Linked DNA regions of Homo sapiens: all the other regions are linked to region 1. The links are contacts of gene promoters, found by promoter capture Hi-C in blood cells and fetal thymus (Javierre and others, 2016). All regions are on one chromosome and are shown on one strand. The core of a region is centred on a gene start or on the middle of the fragment in contact, and the rest is flanking DNA. Distances in the headings are between cores, read along the strand shown.

Region 1 (2,700 bases), core at 168-2,667:
TGAATCTACTCTCTTTTTTTGAAATAGGAATTTAAGTCTAGGTAGTTCCTCCACAATTTCCTTTATGTCCAAGTAAAATAATCCTCGATATAGGTGGAGAGAAAGGCATAACTGAATTAACTCAAAAAAGCAGAAGCAGATTAATTAGTATTCTGATAAAAAGAATATAATCATTTGGTAAAATCTGCGTTGAATTGTAAAGGTTCATTTTAATTACCCCAACTAGGTAACTGTGCAGTTGGAGCATAACAACTCCTTTACGTTCGACTCTTCCAAGACTTTGTAAGTGGCACTTATTTTAATGATATAGAATTTTGATGATATCGCCATTCTTGTAACGTGACAAATTATCTAAATCACAACATCTGCGGTCAGGCTGTTTCTCAAGATTTCTGTTCTCCTGCCAACTAAAGAGGCCCCGACTACTCCTTGGCGCGCACACTGAGGCCGCGCTGCAGGTCAGCACCGAAAGAGCCCCGCACGGATCCCGCCCCACAGGTGCGATTTACACAACCCACATCACCACCACCCCTCCCAACTTCACCACCTCTAGGGTCACCACCCTGTGGGGTTTTGTCTTTACGACTAAGCCGATTCCCTCTGCCTCGCTGGGGAATCAAACTTCCCAGTGACAACGACAGCGGCCAGCACGGGACGTCCACCAGCCCGGCAGGGCTTGACGCTGTCTCAGACCCGGGGAAGGTCCGGAGTCCGGGCACGGTGGCGCGGGGTGCGCAGCCCTGCCCACCTGCCCTACCTGGTGCGAGCCCCGGCCCCGGGGACTGGGGAGCCAACACGGCCGAGCGGGCGTGGGCAGCAGGGCGAGCGCCGGGAGAGGAGAGCGACGAGGGGGGGTCAACGGAAAGAGCGGAGTAGGGGTGCCAATCGAGGAACTTTGGATTTAGGAGGAGGGGGCCAGAACCGCCCCACTGAGGTTTCTTCCAGAAGTTCGGAGGCTTGGGAGAAAGGGGTGGGGAAGAGACCCGTAGAGGCTCGGGTGCGGCGGCGGGGAGGATCCCCGGGGTCTCTGGGCTGACGGAGTCTCCGGCCTCAGGGAGGAGTCGCCAGGGCCGCCGAAGCCGAACTGGCAGAGGAAAAGCAGAGGAAGGCGGCGCGCGAACTCGCCAGCAAAGGAGGGCTGCGCTGCTCCCGGAGCGGAGCGCCTCGCAGCCCGGACCGCGGGACTCACCGCGCTGGCGGCGGCGGCGCCAGACGACGCGGGGCCGGGCACGTCCTGCCTCCTCAGGCGGGACTTGAGGCTCTTCATGGCTAACTCTTGCCTGGCCCCCGCGCGAACCTTAAAGGCTGCGGAGTGCCAGCGCGCAAGGAGTAGACGGCAGCGGCTGCAGCAGAGGCGGCGCGGGCTGTACCAGCCCCACCTGCCTGCCACCTGCGGGCCCCGGGCAGCAGACGTCGACAGGCCTGAGGCGGGGCTCCCCTCCCGTAGCCAATTGACCCGCTGCCCTGGCGGGGGCGTGGCAAACCGCGACCAATCGGAATGCGGGAATGGGGCGGGACTTCCCTTTTAAACTGAGTAACACCCTTCCTCTCCCAGCTGGAGGAAAAGTTTGGGAACTTTAGCCCGGGAAGGGGCGGAGGAGGTGGGCGGCCAGAGGCGTGGAGATGCGCGCAGGCCGGGCTCCAGGCCACCGGCGCCCGCCCACCCGGAGCTTAAGATCTAGAGAGAGCACGGGGTCCCGCCTTTGCCACCTCTCATCTTCCCGGACTCCCCTCCTCTTTCCACCCACGCGCTCTTTACCAAGTAAAGTTCCTTCCCTTCCGTCTGGTCTTAGAAATGACTCTTGGTTACCTGCACACAGAACAGCTTTCAGGAGCAACTTCTTTTCAGTCTCCTGTTTTACTACCAAATCCTGGTGCCTGGAAACCACCACACGCATCAAAAATTCCAGAAATAAACAGTCTCTAAGAAATAAGGTGCTGATTGTGCAGAAAAACGTACAGTTAAGAAAGACCTTGAAAGACGTTATAGTAAGTTACAGTACAAGTTACGTGCTCGTTTATTTGTTGAGTGAAGAATCCGCCGTATTGGAAGCAAAGGGACGGAATGGGGGCGGGGAGGGAGGAGAAGAGGTGCCATCAATTAAAAATGACTCCCACAGCCAGTGATTTAAGTTGTCAAAAAAAGTTACGCCCTTTTTTCTTCAAAAAGGTTTTTTGTTTTCTGTAGAAACACATTACATGTAAACGTATACGATGAAGTTAAATCATCTTACCTAGAAATCTGGGTTAGTAAAAATTATTTAAGAGGATGAAGAAACAGGAAGGTGCTCAGCACCCAATAATTTGCTGTTCGGGTGACATCTTCAAAAGTCTTCTTTGGAGTCATTTTTCCCCCCAGCAAAACGTTTATCGTAGCATGCATCCATTTGAAAAGACAAACGGTCCACATTTTCTGACTAACAAAGGACTCTTTTTTGTCTGAAAGGTCAGTTGCTCTCTTTAGAGTTTCTTTATAGTAACGCAAGGTTTTCTTCAAATACTGTAAGAAAGTTTTCAGAATTTCTTGGAGAGGCAGCATTCAAAGACTGTGTTAACCCTATACAACAAGTAAATAACAACTAACTACCCAAAAATATTATTAAATTTCATCTTGATTAGATCTTTGGAAGAAAATTTTCTTTGATTCCTCCCCCTTCCTCTAGATCTCCAGTCATTTAGTTCTTGTTGGCTCTTTAAAGT
Region 2 (2,700 bases), core at 119-2,618, 1.3 Mb before region 1:
GCAGTGAGCCGAGATCCTACCACTGCACTCCAGCCTGGGTGACAGAGTGAGACTCTGTTTCAAAAAAAAAAAGAAGAAAACAAAAACATTGCACTGATGATGGCTTTGATACTAATTAACTCCATGGGCTCAGAGAAGTTTCACCTTCGGGCCTCAGTTTTCTTTACCTTGAAAGGAGGGAGTCATTCATGAGGACTGTGAGGTCATCTATCTTCTCAGTATTAGCCTATGTGTATCCTTTCAGTTCCAAGATTCTTTGTTCTTTTTGAACTCTAAAGCTGATTTTTACAGGATATTTTATTAATTGTATTTAGAGAGCCTTGATAATTGAAGTATTCTTGCTTTCTTAAAGGTCACAATTTATTTAAAATGTATTTCATGTAAGAACTCAGAGATGAGATAATATTTACAGTTTACTTCTGGTTTTAAACTATAGTACATCAAAACGTGGTATTATGCTGCTATGCCATTTTATTTTATATGTCTTTTTTCTTTTTCTTTTTTGAGACAGGGTCTCACTTGTTGCCCAGGCTGGTGTGCAATGGTGTGACCACAGCTCACTGTTTTTTGGTGAGGTTTTTTTGTTGTTTTTACTTTTAAAATTTTTTATTAGATGAGCTTGCCCAGGCTGGTCTCTTAACTCATGGCCTCAAGTGATCCTCCTGCCTCAGCCTTCCAAAGTGGGATTATAAGTGTGAGCCACTATGCCCATGCTTTGCTATTTTAAATGACACCTTTATAAAGAAAAACTAGGAAACAGTAAAGTTGTGTATGACATAATGCTTGTAGATTTCCACAAATCTGTGACTATGAATCGTTACAATACCTTTTGATCTCTGTCACTTAATTAAAACAAAATCAGCCTTAGATTAGAAGCATTAGTAGACTTAAGACTTTTCTACATTTTTGGCCAGGTGTGGTGGCTCACGCCTGTAATCCCAGCACTTTGGAAGGCTGAGGTGGGTGGATCACCTAAGATCAGGAGTTTGACACCAGCCTAACATGGTGAAACCCGTCTCTACTAAAAATATAAAAATTAGCCAGGTGTGGTGGCACGTGCCTGTAATTCCAGCTACTTGGGAGGCTGAGGCAGGGGAATCGCTTGAACCCAGGAGGCAGAGGTTGCAGTGAGCCGAGATTGTGTCATTGCACTCCAGCCTGGGCAACAAGAGCAAAACTCTGTCTCAAAAAAAAAGAGTTTTCTACATTTTCTTTAGTAGTTGTGACTGAAAACGTTTACCAGTTTATAATTGGTATGATATAGGTATGTCATGACTTTTTAGTAACTAAATAACTAAGGGTTCCAACTGTAAAAAGACCATTTATATTTTTTCTTTGCATGCTTAGATCTTAAATGTCATAAACACCTTAAGTTTAAGGAGATGTATTTTTAGCCTAGATAATAGTGGAATTCTATTTAGTGCATTTTTTTCTCTCTCCACAGACTCAGTATTCATTTAAACAAGTATTTGGCACTCACACCACCCAGAAGGAACTCTTTGATGTTGTGGCTAATCCCTTGGTCAATGACCTCATTCATGGCAAAAATGGTATGATATGACTCTTGGAGTTTTGTTAGATTTTCCTTTTTCTCCTCTTCTGATAAAACTTTTTTGATATTTATATATTTGATTTATGTTTGGTGTTGAATCCATATTTAATTTGTTAGGGTGGTGCTAAACTTGCCTTTTTTGAGCTGGCTAATTGTTAGTGTTTTCTAATGCAGTGAAGAAATACTCTAAGTGGAGAACTTCTAAGATATAACTCATTGTGACTTGCTACACTGTAGGTCTTCTTTTTACATATGGTGTGACGGGAAGTGGAAAAACTCACACAATGACTGGTTCTCCAGGGGAAGGAGGGCTGCTTCCTCGTTGTTTGGACATGATCTTTAACAGTATAGGGTCATTTCAAGCTAAACGATATGTAAGTATGATTCTTTTGTGTTGTGACTATCTTACTGGACTAAGACACCTATGGATACAGTAGTAGTAAAGAAGAACCAAAGCACTGGATTCATTTTGAAACCTTAACTGTTCCTTAGTTTTTAAACATATTTCTTACTATTTAAGTTAAATTCTAAAAAACGTGGTGTGATTTTTTTTTTTTTGCCCCCACTTCAGGTTTTCAAATCTAATGATAGGAATAGTATGGATATACAGTGTGAGGTTGATGCCTTATTAGAACGTCAGAAAAGAGAAGCTATGCCCAATCCAAAGACTTCTTCTAGCAAGTAAGTAATTATATTTGTCTGCAGCACTGGCCTAGGGGCACAGGATTCTTTCCTGTGGTTTGCCCAGACATGAGGAATGGTGAACATTAAATAGAGAAGTTGACTTTTGTGAGATTAAAGTTAAGGAATGTTCTTAAGTTCTTTGCTCAGATGTTTTCTCTTTGGCTTTGAGCACATTTTGTTTCAATCACTGTTTTAAGAGGGTGCCACTCTGGATGGGGAGAGGGTATAAAAGCCATTGTTGTGTGTTCGGGAGGACGTGGGAATACTGTTGGCAAACCATGAGTATGAATAAAGCTGCTTTGTGCATTTCTGCTTGTAATTGCAGATATTTATTTTATCTGTTAGTTTCCCCTTGGGATCAGTTACTTTTTTTTTTTTTTGAGACAGAGTCTCACTTTGCTGCCCAGGGTGGAGTGCAGTGGCATGATCTCGGCTCACTGCAACCTCTGCCTTCCAGGTTCAAA
Region 3 (2,700 bases), core at 182-2,681, 1.3 Mb before region 1:
TGCTTTACATAATAAACATCAAGCATATTTGCAAGGCTTTAAAGTATACCAAATTTTCCAAGAATATAGCTGCCCTGTCAGTTGGGAAGACTGCATGACATCTCCTGTTTAATGTCAGTAATCTATCCCCCACAATGAGATGTTCTGTGTGAAAATGCTTCTGGGAACATATTTCCTTTCCTTTCATCTCTTTTTGTTTATAGTCTTTCCATTATTCTTAAAGGGAAAAAAGTTATATTGTTACTGGTTAACCCAGCCCCTTAACCAATTTCCTAAATTCTAACTAAAATACAGTAAAATGCTTATATTTGTAACCAACAGTCATACTAGGTTGTAAGATGCTTAAAGCTTTGCTTCTTGGTCACCACATAATTAATATAGACATTAACAAGCAGTTGCTCTGTAAACAGGAACCTGGCCTCTCTTAGTACCAGCAACAGCCAAGCGGCACCACCCACTTCATTGTCACCGTCATGTTTTTCTTTCCTTCTTTCTTTCTTTCTTTCCTTTTCTTTCTTTCTTTCTTTCTTTCCTTTCTTTCTTTCTTTCTCTCTCTTTCTTTCTTTCCTTTTTTTTTTTTTTTTTTTTTTTTTTGAGATGGAGTCTTGCTCTGTCACCCAGGCTGGAGTGCAGTGGCTCAGTCTCAGCTCACTGCAACCTCTGCCTCCTGGGTTCAAGTGATTCTCATGCCTTAGCCTCCTGAGTAGCTGGGATCACAGGTGTGTGTCACCATGCCCAGCTTATTTTTGTATTTTTAGTAGAGACAGAATTTTGCCATTTTGGCCAGGCTGGTCCCAAACTCCTGGCCCAAAGTGATCTGCCCACCTTGACCTCCCAAAGTGCTAGAATTACAAGCACAAGCCACCACGCCTAGCCACCACTTTCATGTTTTTCAAAACATAACTTCTTTCAGACAGTCTACTAATTGTATTTAGAATGCACCTTAATTCTCTTCCTGTACATTATTCCTTTAAAAAAAGTTATATTGAATTTTGGAGACATATACACACATTTTTCCCCATGTAAATACCGGCCAACAAGCCCTGGAGTGAAGATACATATGTTCTGTTAAGGAGTGGTTGTGCAGGGAGAATGTTACCTGGGGTGGAGTTCTGAGGGTAGACCTGAGCTTTGTTTCTCCGAGCACAGGAGGTAGTATGATTTTCTAGTCCTGTTGCAGCTTGAAGGACTTTGGAGAATGTCTCATTCTTTTTCAGTTCACAGGGAAAGGGCAAAGAGGCCTGGAGATTTCTCCAGGGTCATACAGTGCCCATGGTAGAACTGAGCTGGGAACCCAGGCACCTAGCATCCAGATGGACGGCAGCTCTGGGCTTTACGCCAGGATCTCAGGCTGGCAAATTGGAATACAGGCCACCAGACAGGTCTGGTGGATCAGTCACTTTGCCTTAAGCAAAGCAACCTCCAAACATCAAGTAACTAATGTATCGTGTTGTCCCTGCTAGTGGAAGGTTAGTGACTCTTGGTAAACACACCTACTGGCTATTTATAGAACTCAGTCTAGGGACCAGACTGGGCCTTTCAACACAGTCAAGTCAGGATGTGGGAGCCAAGCAGAGAGGCTGGGAGGTGGGGCCCAATGGTCTGCAAAGCCTGCGCATCTGCTGCTGGGATGGGGAGTTCAGGGCACTCCTGGCTTCCAAGAAAGCCAACCCCACAGTCCCAAGGTGCTTCTTCCCAGATGGCATTGCAGATACATCTTGATGAGGGTATCCTAGCCTGGTTTCCCCCGAGCAGGGCCCAAATCAGAGGCTTTTGCAGGATGAGTTCTTTGAGTACATTCCTAGGAAGCTGGGAAGGGGGCAACTGGTCCAAGGAGGCATGACGGACTTGCTTCTGCTCAATATGGTGGGGCCTTATAAGAAGCCTCCTGAAAATGAGTCCCAGAACTGCCTGCCTGGGAAAGAAGGGATGCCATTTATTCATCCCCCCTTTGATCCGGGTAACCCATGAAGTGTTTATGCTACATTGCATTTGGGTGAGCACCAGGTGGGTTCGGGGCCACTCAGGCAGGAAAGCCTGGGGCAGATGAAAGAGGGCAGGGAGGAGTCAGAGGTGAGACTGGGACAGCTTGCACCTTCACAAAACAAGCAAAGCTGCGTGGAGCTGGTAGCTTCGGGGCTGACAGGGATGAGAAAGAAGGACAAGGGGGTCTGCAGTGGTGTCAAGAGGGCATTGGTACAAGTGGCTGGGGGAGATGAAACTAGGAGCAGATTAGCAGTTGGTGGGAGTCCAAATTCCAGAACACGTGCAATGTGTCTCTTGCCCTGTGCGCAGTGCAAAGGGAAAGGTATAATATATCACAATCAAAAGACAGAAGATTTCAATCTCCCCAGAAAGTTCTCTGTGTCCTGTTTTACCCGCCCTCCATCTGCTTTTGATTCTGATAGCAAGAGTGTTATTTGGTCCCTCTTCCCATTCTTTTTTCTCTCCCTCTCCCTCCATCTCCTTCCATCATTCTCTCTGTTCCTTCCGCTGTGCCCCTTTCTACTCTCCTAAGCTTGCTGGGAGCCTGGCTCACCTGCTGAACTACACTGGATGCTCTTTGAGAGTAGAAGATGCACCGTGTTAGCTTTTCCATCTGCTCCCATCCCCTGTGAACATGTATCTCAGATGGCAGCCAGTGGCCCCAGCCCCTGAAAATCTGAAAGGGCGTGACTGAAGTCCTCATTTCATGCCTGA
Region 4 (2,700 bases), core at 40-2,539, 1.3 Mb before region 1:
TGGCGCAATCTTGGCTCACTGCAACCTCCGCCTGCCGGGTACAAGCGAGTCTCCTGTCTCAGCCTCCCAAGTAGCTCGGATTATAGGCATGAGCCACTACGCCTGGCTAATTTAGTAGAGACGTAGTTTCACCATGTTGGTCAGGCTGGTCGCGAACTTTGATCCACCCACCTTGCCCTCCCAAAGTGCTGGGATTACAGGCGTGCGCCACAGCGCCCGGCCGACAGTCGAGCTTTTAGAGCCCGCGGCGCGCCCACCAACGCAGGGCCGGGAGGAAAAGGCGGGCCGAGAGGCGGGGCTGGAGGCCGAGTGTGGCCGAGGGAAGCCGAACTTTCCAGTTTCGCTGAGGCCTGTTAACCGCTGGGGGCGCCTTCGGGACAGCTGGCTTCTGCGCATGCTCTTGACCCTCCGTCCCCCGGAGGAATGTCTTAAGTCAGGAGCTGATTAGTGGTTGAAGGCAGCTGATCTGTTTCGAATCCTGTGTGTCCGGAGAGGCCAACGCTTTCATTAGCCAGCAGGAATGGGCTGGGGCGCGTTTGTAGTTGGGAATCCTGAGCCCGGGCTGTTGCTTGGAGGACTCGGGAGCAGCAGTGGATTTCGGCGTTACCAGGAGAGGTCTCGAGCACCAGATCCCTCTTCCTTCACTTCCCAGTAGTGGGTTCTAGCCGTTCCCAGCGCCTTCATTTCCAGAAGGCGATTTTACCCAGAGAAAGGAGAGGGAAGATTTGCTCTACCTTTGGCTTCTTATCAAATAGCTAAATCACGTGGGAAGCTGGTAAACAAAAACAAAAATGAATGAAACAAACAACTAAACAGCTTGCCGGGCCCCTCCAAGGCCCACCGAACCAGCCCCTCGAGGCAGCCACCGGGAATTTTCATAAGCTCTTCTGATGAGCGGGAGGATAAGTCAGTCAGGGCTGGAAACTCCCGGATCAGAGCAAACCCAGCTCCTCAGCACCTGAGGAGAAGACGCGTAGTCAATATGGTTTGAAATAATGTGTAAATGAATATATGAATGAAGAGCTGTCTTCAAACGTGGAAGGAAAAGTTAACAGTTTGATAAAAAGCCATATTGACAAACCTGGGAAAATGGGCTGTTGGTTGATTTGGGTGTAAATTCCTATAACGTTTTTCTTCTTTCTTTTCTTCTTTACTCCTCCTCTCCCTCCTCCTCCCCTACCCCTCCTTTCCCCTCCTCCTCCTCTTTCTCTTTCTTCTTCTCTTCTTTTTTTTTGAGACAGGATCTCACTGTCGCCCAGGATGGAGTGCAGTGGCATGATCTCTGCTCACTGCAACCTTGAACTCTGGGGCTCAAGCGATCCTCCCGAGTAGCCGGGATTACAGGCACATGTCACCACGCCAGGCTACTTTTTTTTTTTTTTTTTTTGGTCTTTTCTAGAGATAGGGTTTCACCATGTTGCCCAGGGTGGTCTTGAACTCCTAGGCTCAAGTGATCCTCCATCCTTGGCCTCCCAAAGTGCTGGGATTACAGGCGAGAGCCTCCACACCCAGCCCCTTAATGTTTCATTCTACTATTTTATTAAAGACTGAAAACCACAGTTAATAATGTGGGGATTTTGAATTTTTTAAATTTACTTTTTTTTTGAGACAGGGTCTTGCTTTGTCACCCAGGCTGGAGTGCAGTGGTGTGATCAAGGCTCACTGCAGCCTCGACCTCCTTGGGGCTCAAGCAACCTTCCTGCCCCAGTCTCCAAGTAGCTGGATTACAGGTGGTGAGCCACTGTGCCATCACTACAAGTTCCAATTTTTTTTTTTAATTTTTAAATGTTTTCTTCAGCCTGTTTGAGTTTGAACTACTACAGTTTTGTTTTGTTTTTTTTTTTTTTTTTTTTTTTTTTTGAGATGGAGTCTTGCTCTGTCGCCTAGGCTGGAGTGGAGCGGTGCGATCTCAACTCACTGCAAGCTCCGCCTCCCGGGTTCACGCCATTCTCCTGCCTCAGCCTCCCGAGTAGCTGGGACTACAGGCGCCCGCCACCACGCCCTGCTAATTTTTTGTATTTTTAGGAGAAACAGGGTTTCACCATGTTAGCCAGGATGGTCTTGATCTCCTGACCTCGTGATCTGCCCGCCTCGGCTTCTCAAAGTGCTGGGATTATAGGCGTGAGCCACCGAGCCCGGCCAGAACTACTACAATTTTTTTAGGGTCATTTGGTCCTCTCTCTCAAAAGTGCGCTTACCCTCTATCCAGGAATTTCATTTGTAGGAACCTATGCTATGTACAATTTCACTGAAGTATTGCTTGTATTAGAAAAAAAGTATGGATGATAGGCAGGTTGAATAAATGTTAATGTTTTCATGTAGCTATGTATAGGAATGCCGCTATGGAAAGACATCCAGGACACCTTGTTAAGTGAAAAAAGGTAAGTTGCCACCAGTATGCATAACATGACCCTATTTGAGTAAAAAAATAAAAAAAATGTGCATATGTTTTATAGTATTAAAAAACTTCTGGGAGGATTCAAGAGTAATTATAGTGGTTACTTCTGAGGACAGGGATTGGATGGGGTGGAAGAAATATTTTTACTTTCCAGTTTATCCTTTTTATATTGCTTGAATTTTTAAAGACCATGAACATACATTACTTTTCTAAATTAAAAACACTGGTTTTGATTTTTTAAAAATTGGAGAGGGTTTCATGTGGAAGAGAGACTCAACTTCCAAGTAGTTCTAGAAGGAAGA
Region 5 (2,700 bases), core at 143-2,642, 1.3 Mb before region 1:
TCAATCCATGATACTATGAAAGTGTATGCATTGCATATCATGATTATGTCTTTCATCTCTTTTAATATAAAATAGTCTCACCCTGTCCCCCTACTTTTTTTATTTTTATGACATTGACTATTTTCATTGAAGAGTTTAGGCCAGTTATTTTAAAATTACTGATTTCCATGCCCAATAAATTGCTTTTAATCTTGAGGCATTTATCTCAATTTACATTTGCCTCATTCAAGGGTATTTAAATAAATTCACTTTCATATTTTTCTTCTTAAAGATTAAGGTAAAGTTTCTTTTGAATCTGAATAAATGGACCAAGTTAATGTTTGCGAATTTTATATTTAGTAAAATCTTCACAAAGCTCTCTTAGAATATTTCTTCTAAATCTTACAGTAAACATTTACTTTAGATTTTCTTATATAAGTCAGGGTATAGATGAATGTTCATTTATGTGGCCTGAATTCCTGATTATTAAGGGATGGTGATGAATCCCAAGTTATTTACCAGGGAAACAGATGATTCTAAAGTCTCTTAAGTTCTTTACTTTGCAGATTTTTCCTTAAACATTTTTAGACAGCAAATTAGGTAAATGGTCATTCTGACCAACTCTAGTCAGTCATTTTATGAAAGTTTATAGGCTGAAAACTATTCAAGGCTTGCGTATGCCTTGCAAACCGTAATGAGATATCTAATTTGGCTATGAGATATTTAAGGGAATTTACTAGAGATTCTTACGTGAAATCAAAATCTCTTTAGAAGTGCAGCAGAAAAGTTACTGTAAGGTTAGTATCTGTGCATCTAAGTTTGTTGGTCAAAAATTATGTCAGGTGGACTGAATTTATACTTCAGTGAGGAAAAAATTTAAATATTTGTTTCATAAATGCTAGTAGATTGTATGGATTATCATCTTTCTGAAGTGTGTTTCATCATATGCTTATTGTTAAATGTTTGAAGAAAACCTTTGTTTTTGCTAAATGGTAGATGATAAGGACCAGACTTTCTTTCGTGTTCAACATTAAATAAATCATTGTAGGAATGGAAAGTTCCTGTTTGTCTTGAGGCTCAGCATCTTTAGTGGCAAACTGTATTGCCCATGTCTTAGAGCTGTCACTAGTGCTGCATTTGTTTCTTGTTAACTATATAGCGAAAATGATTCAGTTCCTCAGATGTGCATTTTGAAATTGAGGTCTTCATACTTGACTAGCTTTGACAGATTTGGCCTGTGATAGACTTTTTCCATTTGCTTTCAGTTTTGTTTTTTGGGTTTTTTTTTTTTTTTTTTTTTTTTTTTTTTGAGATGAGGTCTTGATCTGTTGCCCAGGCTGGAGTGCAGTGGTGTCATCTAGGCTCACTGCAGCCTTGACCTTCCAGGCTCAAGTGATCGTTCTACCTCAGCCTCCTGAGTAGCTGGGACCACAGGCATGTGCTATCGCACCTGGCTAATTTTTAAATTTTTTGTAAAGATGGGGTCTTCTTACATTGCCTAAGCTGGTCTCGGGTGATCCTTCTCCCACCTCAGCCTCACAAATGTTGGGATAACAGGTATGAGCCACTGCACCCAGCCCTGCTTTCAGTTTTACAAACAGGAGATGTTCATAAAATTCTAAAGATAATTCATTGCTTCAAACTATAACTATGGCATATATGTGACATATTATTTTCTTAGGCTGAATGTGCTTAATTTAGCATTCCCAGGTTTACATGACATTTGACTGGAAGCAACTTGTTTGTTTTTGAGGCAGGGTCTCATTCTATTGCCCAGGCTGGAGTGCAGTGGTGCGATCTTGGCTCACTGCAATTTCCACCTCCTGGGCTCAAGCAATCCTCCCACCTCAACCTCCTGAGTAGCTGGGACTACAGGCACGTGTCACCAAGCCCAGCTAATATATATATATATATTTTTGTTTGTTTTGTTTTGTTTTGTTTTTGTTGAGTCTGGGTTTCACCATGTTGCCTAGGCTGAACTTGAACTTCTGAGTTCAAGTGATTCCTCCACCTCGGCCTTCCAAAGTGCTGATTACAGGCATGTACCACCATGCCTGGCCTAGCAACTAGTCTTTTATTGTGTGATAGAGACTGATTTGACACTGTATTATTTATTTGTTTCTTGGAACCTGTATGAAATGTTTGGGGGAAAAATTAGTTGGTATATTGTAGCCATTACTGTATTTGAACTTTTCATGAAGTTCTATTATGAGATTTTAAAATCTTAACTGAAAGCACTCAGAAGTATTTCACATTTCTTTAATCATTTTATTCATATGGTTCTTATTATACCTATGTTCTTAGGATTGTTTTCTGTTTTGTTTAGAAGCCTAGAAAATGTGTAGGGCTTTCATTGATCTTATTGAAGATTTTAACAGAGTTGTGGACATAATAGATTACCTCTCAATAGCAGGGATAAATATTGGTTTTTGATCAAGAATATGAAATGAGTTGTTTGTCCTGAACCACCCCCAAGCAGGAAAGACTTGCAGCATTACCAGAATTTTTTCTTTTATCCTTTATTGAAAGGGAAACTCCCAGATAGAATGTGTAACATACAAGTTGGTGTTAAAGATGTTTGTTGGTTTTGTGTTTAAATGCAAAGATCATGTTTAAATTACTTGAATAAAATATTTAGCTTTGGAAAGGTTTGCTATGATACTGTCATCAACTAATGTAGCCAAACCTGCTGCACTTCTAATAATACCCTTAAATTAATTC
Region 6 (2,700 bases), core at 136-2,635, 1.6 Mb before region 1:
GCAAATATAATGTTTCCCAAGAAGTGTGATTCCTAGGAGAAAGGAGAAGGTAGTTTGGGTGGAAGAGATTGGGTGGCTTTGTTCTGTTCAAAGGATGGGCGAGACTATGTTTGTGGGAGAAAGATTTAGGTTAGAGGAAGAAATTAATAATGGGGAAAGAAAGAATAGCTGAATAAAATCTGGGAATGGCTGGGATCCAGGGCACAGGTGCAAGATTTAACCTTGAGGAGAAAGGGCACTTCTTGCTGTGGGTGAGGGAGTGAAGAGGGTAAGATGAATGAAGGTACAGGATAGGCATAATAATGAAGAGCCTGGATTTAAGGGTGAAGCCACTGGCTCACATTATAGAGGAAAGGCTAGGAAAGCCGAATTTTCTGGGGCCAGGTCCAGATTTAATATATTTAAGTATAACAGTCTTAATTCATTCCTTTCACCTTATTCAGTGCCCTGGGTGTGCCAAATACTACTGGGCACTGGGGTCTACAAAGGTACGACTTTTCATGTAATGTTGGAATTTGTTATGTTGGTAACTCGAGATTTGCATATATTTAACAGTCTTAATTCATTCCTTTCACATTATTCAGTGCCCTGGGTGTGCCAAATACTACTGGGCACTGGGGTCTATAAAGGTACGACTTTTCATTAATTTTGGAATTTGTTATGTTGGTAACTCGAGATTTGCTTTTCATTCTTCTGGAAGGCTGTATGTAGAAATAAATACAGTCATCAGACGAGTTCTTTGTCAGACCAGATGTCCTGGGTTGGGGTTTGGAAAACATGGGCATCTTAACAATGGTGCCCTGTTTGAGGTGGAGAGGGAGGAGAGGCCCAAATCGGGGAAAGGAATTAAATGGAGGTTTAGACGCGGGTAACCGGAGTGGGTGGGCCTTCAACCTGGAAGATGGGAATCCCCAGCGCACTTCGGGCAGCGCTGTAACCAAGGGTAACCGCACCTCGGTTTACACCGGTGTGAAGACCAGCCTCTTCCCCAAACCAGGTGTATCTACGGCGGCCTAGCAGGACCACACACAAGCCAAGCACGTCACGTCATTCGAGCTACCTTACCGCGAAAGTCCACTGCCTCCTACTACTTCTGGTCACTACTACCTTTGCTCACAGTTTATTAAGGAGGAGCGGAGAAGAAGAGGGGCGGAGAAGGGGCGGGGAGAATCACCTTTCCTTTTTTACAATTGGTCGTAGTAGACTCCGAGTCCTGCCGCCCGTCCTGCAGCCGACAGGCTGCCAGGACTGTCACTCGAGGAGCTGCCGCTACCGCCCCCCGCCGTGGCCCCGCCCCTTGCCGTGGCTGGGATCTCGCGGGAAGAGCTGCGGGCACGGCGGTGGCTCGGTCTCCCGGCTGCGCGCGGAGCGGGAGGGCTCTCCTCACACAAGCGCTTCCTTGCCGAGAGGCTGGAGCTGCGGCACCGCAGGCCTGAGCCACCCCTTCTCTGCTGTCTCCTTCTCTTCCTCAGGGCTCCCGTGTCTGCTCGCCCTCCGACGCTGCTCAGGTTAGAAAGCCCGGAGCGCGTCTCCGCTGAGGAGCGGTCGGGGAGCGGGGACACGGAGCAGCCGGAGCAGGCGGGCTCCTGACGGGGGCGGCTCTGGGGGCTGCGCGGCGCTGCCTGGTGGGCGCGAGGCTTGGCGGGGTTTGGGAGTCCGGGGGGCGAGGAGGCGGTGCAGTGGGATCCGGGCGCGGGCGCCCAAGGGCGGTGTAGCGGGTGCCGGAGCTCCCGAGGTGAGGGGGCAATGTATTAGGGATCCTGGGGGCTCTTCCGGCTTGGGGTAGGGGTGGGTGGCGGCACACGGGGTCCTAGGTCTTTGACGTCGAGGGAGATTTATCAGGGTCTTGAGCTTCTTGGAGGTGGTGTAGCGGGGTTCCGGGACAAGGGGTCTTTTTACCCGGGTCCCGAGCTCTTTGGGGCAGAGAATGCAGTTTAGCAAGGTTTACACCGGTGTAAACCTTGTCTCTGGAGGCAGATCATCGGGGTCTTGGGGGTTCTTTGAGCGGGCGTGGGCGTCCGTTTCGCATTGCTGGGATGAAGAAGCAGTGTGTCCGGGTTCTGGGGAGAGGGGTCTGTTCATCGGTGTCTCCGGGTGAGAGAGCGATGTATCCGTTCCGCTGGGGCCGGGGCCGCCTTGGGGGGTTGTTGGGGGCTGAGGGTGTGTAGCGGCGACCAGCGTCTGGCCGGGGTTTCTGCTTTGCCCGGAGCGGGGCGGTAACTTGGCATGGTCTCCAGTCTTTTGGGGGCGACGGGGCGAGTTAGCTGGCCCCCGGGCAGTCTCTCGGGGTGGGCGCGGCTCCGCAGGCGCTGGGTCCGCTGAGGGCGGGAGAGGGCTTTGGTGCTACCGCGCAGGCTGGGCAGCATCCTGAAACGTTTTTGTTCAGGTCTCCTTCTCTCTGGATGAGATTTACTCAATGCTTAGTTGGAGGATTGATCGGTGTTGTTGCCTAGTTGAAGAAGCAGTGCGTTTGTTCTGCAGTTTTCTTTTCTCTGCCCCGGGATCCCTGTGGGGGCGCGCTGGTCTCGCTGGAGCTCCGGGAGCTAGAGTGGCAGCACCTTAGGTGGGCGTTTGGTCTGCAGGTTCTTTAGGAGGCCGGTGTCCGCAGGTTGAGCGTGGATACAGCTCCTGAGCAACTGGAATCTGTTGAGGGTGGGGAAGACTGATTTTGGCTTGCTTTCCTAGGTGGTGGTCTGCTTT
Region 7 (2,700 bases), core at 159-2,658, 1.4 Mb before region 1:
GACTGAGTGGAGCACAATAGCCTGGAGAATGTCCGCATCCTCAGACCTGCTTCTGTGCTGGGTCCCCAGGATCCAGGCCTGACCAGATCTGGCACCTGCCTGAGGAGGGTTCCCTAACTGCCCAATGTGGAAGTCCCTGCATACTCCATGCTGAGAGATACAGGCAGCAGCTGGGTTTATGGTCAGGTGGCTTTACTGGCTCATACGAGATATGAACAGCCTGGCCAGGTGAAATCGGTCTGGGCTCAGAGGAAACAGCAGATGGCATTTGAAGGAGAAGGAACAGGCTTGTGGACTGGGACCGAGGTTCTTGGGAGCAGAGATAGGAGCCACAGCAGGACACAGACCCCATCCCTCCAGTGTGATAGGGGGCAGAACTGTCAGCAAAGGCTGAAAGGGCCCAGATGCATGCATTGCCTTTACAGACTGCATCAGAACAGCCATCCCAAGAGCCTCAGCGTGTGGCTGTGCATCCACTGTGCTGGGTTCCTTACCCTGCAGCCCTGTGGGCCCCAAGGGAGGACACAGCCCTCCACAGTACACCTCAGCATTGATGTGGGGACTTTACCTGTCCCTACTACCTGGCCTTGGTGGCCCAGCCAGGGCCCATGAGCACTTCCTTACCCAGGCCTCAGTTCAGGGCTGTGATTTTGTGCAGAGACCCTCCCTGCCCCTCCCCATGTCCTCCCAGTGTGCAGCCTGCTGTCTGTGCTACCCAGTTCCCCATACCCTGAGCTGCTGCCCCAGGCTGGGCCCAAGTCAGCTGAGGCCCTGTCATGTTCTGTCTGGGGGGACCTGCCTCTCTTCTCAACAATCAGCATCACTTGTTTTAATGTTGCTGTCAGCTGTCTTTGGATTGGAGGTTGGGTGAGGGTGGCAATGAAGAAGAGAAGGAAAGACTTCACGTTTATTTAGTTTTCCCAAGCCAAGTATCCCTGTGTGTGGTATAAATATTCCAGAAAGCTCTCCAAGGGTCAAACACCTACTTGAACCCAGGTCTCCTGCATGATAATACCTGGGCTCCAACTAGATGGGTGCATCTCAGCCTCTGCAGAGTGTGCCCCCCAAGAGTCTGTGGCAGTGGATCCCCCGATTCCCCCTACCCGTTCCCTGTCCCTGTAGCAACTAGAGTTTTAAAAGGTTCTTTGGCAGTTACATAACTTGGCCCTTGAAGGGTTTCTGCCCAGCGCCTCCTTTCTGGCTTAGTCTGGACACCACTGCTTCCCATGGTCAGGAGATGGTGTCCCTGGAGATCTTTTTGCATCTGAAGTTTTGTCACTTCCATTGGGGTGGGAGGAATGGACGAGGCTGGTGGAGAAGCTGCTGGCCACAGGAGCTTGTAGAAAAATGCTTGTCCTCTGTTGATGACCAGGCCCTCGGTGTGCATGCATGTGCGTATGCAATTTGCTGAGACTCTTTTCATTCCATTTCCTCCCCACTTTCCTTCCCTGATTTAGGTTTCTTGAAATCCAGAAGCCCAGACTCTGTAAGGTGATTCGTGTCCTCGCCTTTGCTTATCCGTACACCTGGGACTCCCTCCCCATCTTCTACAGGGTAAGGACTGGCTGCATCTCCTCTCTGCCTGTTGGCAACACCAGGAAGTCAGTTGTTTTCCTGAGCTTCTGGGGGGTCACAGCACTGCAATGGGAACCGCAGAACAAAACAGGAGTCGAGACCCAGGTGAAGGGGGCCAGCCCCTCCACACCTGTGGGTATTTCTCGTCAGGTGGGACGAGAGACTGAGAAAATAAATAAGAAGATTTTTCTTAGTACAGATCAAAATGGAGTTTCTTATGTCTTCCTTTTTCTACATAGACACAGTAACAGTCTGATATATCTTTCTTTCCCCCACACCCAGGTGCTGCCTTGGTGGCACTTGAGGAGTGGTTAGGAGATGACATAAGCACAGAGGCCCTGACTGACAATATGACTGGGGGCTCGGGAACGTCATAGAACAGGCAGCCTGGGGCTGAGTGGAGTGAGCAGGAGAGCGAGCTCTGCAGGCAGGTCTCCAATACTTGCTGTCAGTCCCTGGGCCAGTTCTCTATGCCTCGATTTCCTTCATCTGTAAGCTGGGCCTGATAACACCTCATGGGCTGTGGGGAGGATTACACGGGGAACATGTCAAGTGCTGACTGGTAGCAAGAGTTCGGGAATGCATTGTTCCATCATCAAGTAGTATACTGTTAGTATTGAAGGAAAAGGCATGAATGAGGGTCTTAAAGGAGCGATGGGAAAGAGATGGAGAGCATAAAGGAAGAGAGTGTAGGAGGGACAACAAGTAGGACTAGAAGGGGAAAGTCCACGCACTTTCAAACCATACGGGCTTGAGTTCAAATTCTGGCCCCACTGCTCACTGGCTATGTGACCTCAGGCAGGACACACAACTCTCTAAGCCTCAGATTAGTTTCCTCATCTGTACATAAGGGTACTAGGCCTCCTTTGTAGGGGAAAACAATGGATCTGATAGGCTCTGCGGTGCCTGTCCAGTACCCGGTGAGTGAAGCTCCCTCCTAGAGGCAGCGTCCTGTGGGCTTGAAGAATAAAGCCCAGATGGCAGGGCTGAGGGACAAGGGGAGGGGCTGAGCTCCACCCAGCAGCTGGGGCATTGAGCACGTTCTCTGTGCTCTGCCTCTGTGGGTCTGGGAGAGCGCCAAAGATGGGGCTGCAGCCCGTTCCCCTCACTCCTTCCTCAAGGGCG

What was found. The method cuts DNA at HindIII sites, captures the fragments that hold promoters and counts their contacts. A CHiCAGO score of 5 or more calls a contact.
Region 2: a fragment that was not itself captured here is called in contact with the fragment with the promoter of UACA in region 1 in 2 of 17 cell types (total B cells and naive B cells); the score reaches 8.3 in total B cells.
Region 3: a fragment that was not itself captured here is called in contact with the fragment with the promoter of UACA in region 1 in 5 of 17 cell types (total B cells, naive B cells, fetal thymus and 2 more); the score reaches 7.6 in total B cells.
Region 4: a contact is called between a fragment that was not itself captured here and the fragment with the promoter of UACA in region 1, in 4 of 17 cell types (total B cells, naive B cells, monocytes and 1 more). The highest score is 11.4, in total B cells.
Region 5: a contact is called between a fragment that was not itself captured here and the fragment with the promoter of UACA in region 1, in 1 of 17 cell types (total B cells). The highest score is 5.1, in total B cells.
Region 6: a contact is called between the fragment with the promoter of GLCE here and the fragment with the promoter of UACA in region 1, in 1 of 17 cell types (monocytes). The highest score is 6.2, in monocytes.
Region 7: a contact is called between a fragment that was not itself captured here and the fragment with the promoter of UACA in region 1, in 1 of 17 cell types (total B cells). The highest score is 5.2, in total B cells.

The regions. Positions count from the first base shown.
Region 1 is chr15:70,762,141-70,764,840 of GRCh38, forward strand. UACA (uveal autoantigen with coiled-coil domains and ankyrin repeats) reads right to left here and starts at 1,418. Exons shown (of 19, transcript NM_018003.4): 1 at 1,190-1,418. The coding sequence starts at 1,267. RefSeq lists a silencer at 1,183-1,592. The HindIII fragment of the contact is 4,014 bases long and covers 1-2,700 here.
Region 2 is chr15:69,420,203-69,422,902 of GRCh38, forward strand. KIF23 (kinesin family member 23) reads left to right here. Exons shown (of 24, transcript NM_001367805.3): 4 at 1,445-1,550; 5 at 1,790-1,926; 6 at 2,124-2,233. Among named protein-coding and RNA genes, the nearest start is that of KIF23-AS1, 6.5 kb to the left of the region's middle. The HindIII fragment of the contact is 8,506 bases long and covers 1-2,700 here.
Region 3 is chr15:69,481,510-69,484,209 of GRCh38, forward strand. No RefSeq gene overlaps it. Among named protein-coding and RNA genes, the nearest start is that of LINC02896, 20 kb to the left of the region's middle. The HindIII fragment of the contact is 2,170 bases long and covers 347-2,516 here.
Region 4 is chr15:69,462,511-69,465,210 of GRCh38, forward strand. It overlaps LINC02896 (long intergenic non-protein coding RNA 2896), which reads right to left and starts at 266. Exons shown (of 3, transcript XR_932420.2): 1 at 172-266. RefSeq lists enhancers at 1-284, 220-514, 285-792. The HindIII fragment of the contact is 2,925 bases long and covers 1-2,700 here.
Region 5 is chr15:69,442,069-69,444,768 of GRCh38, forward strand. The region is part of intron 19 of KIF23 (kinesin family member 23); the gene reads left to right. Among named protein-coding and RNA genes, the nearest start is that of RPLP1, 9.4 kb to the right of the region's middle. The HindIII fragment of the contact is 4,204 bases long and covers 1-2,700 here.
Region 6 is chr15:69,159,250-69,161,949 of GRCh38, forward strand. GLCE (glucuronic acid epimerase) reads left to right here and starts at 1,386. Exons shown (of 5, transcript NM_015554.3): 1 at 1,386-1,508. It also overlaps the pseudogene LOC100421574. RefSeq lists an enhancer at 1,048-1,548 and silencers at 1,246-1,455, 1,656-1,765. The HindIII fragment of the contact is 10,275 bases long and covers 1-2,700 here.
Region 7 is chr15:69,396,011-69,398,710 of GRCh38, forward strand. PAQR5 (progestin and adipoQ receptor family member 5) reads left to right here. Exons shown (of 9, transcript NM_017705.4): 7 at 1,458-1,554. It overlaps KIF23-AS1 (KIF23 and PAQR5 antisense RNA 1), which reads right to left. Exons shown (of 2, transcript NR_132971.1): 2 at 894-1,738. Among named protein-coding and RNA genes, the nearest start is that of KIF23, 17 kb to the right of the region's middle. The HindIII fragment of the contact is 7,709 bases long and covers 1-2,700 here.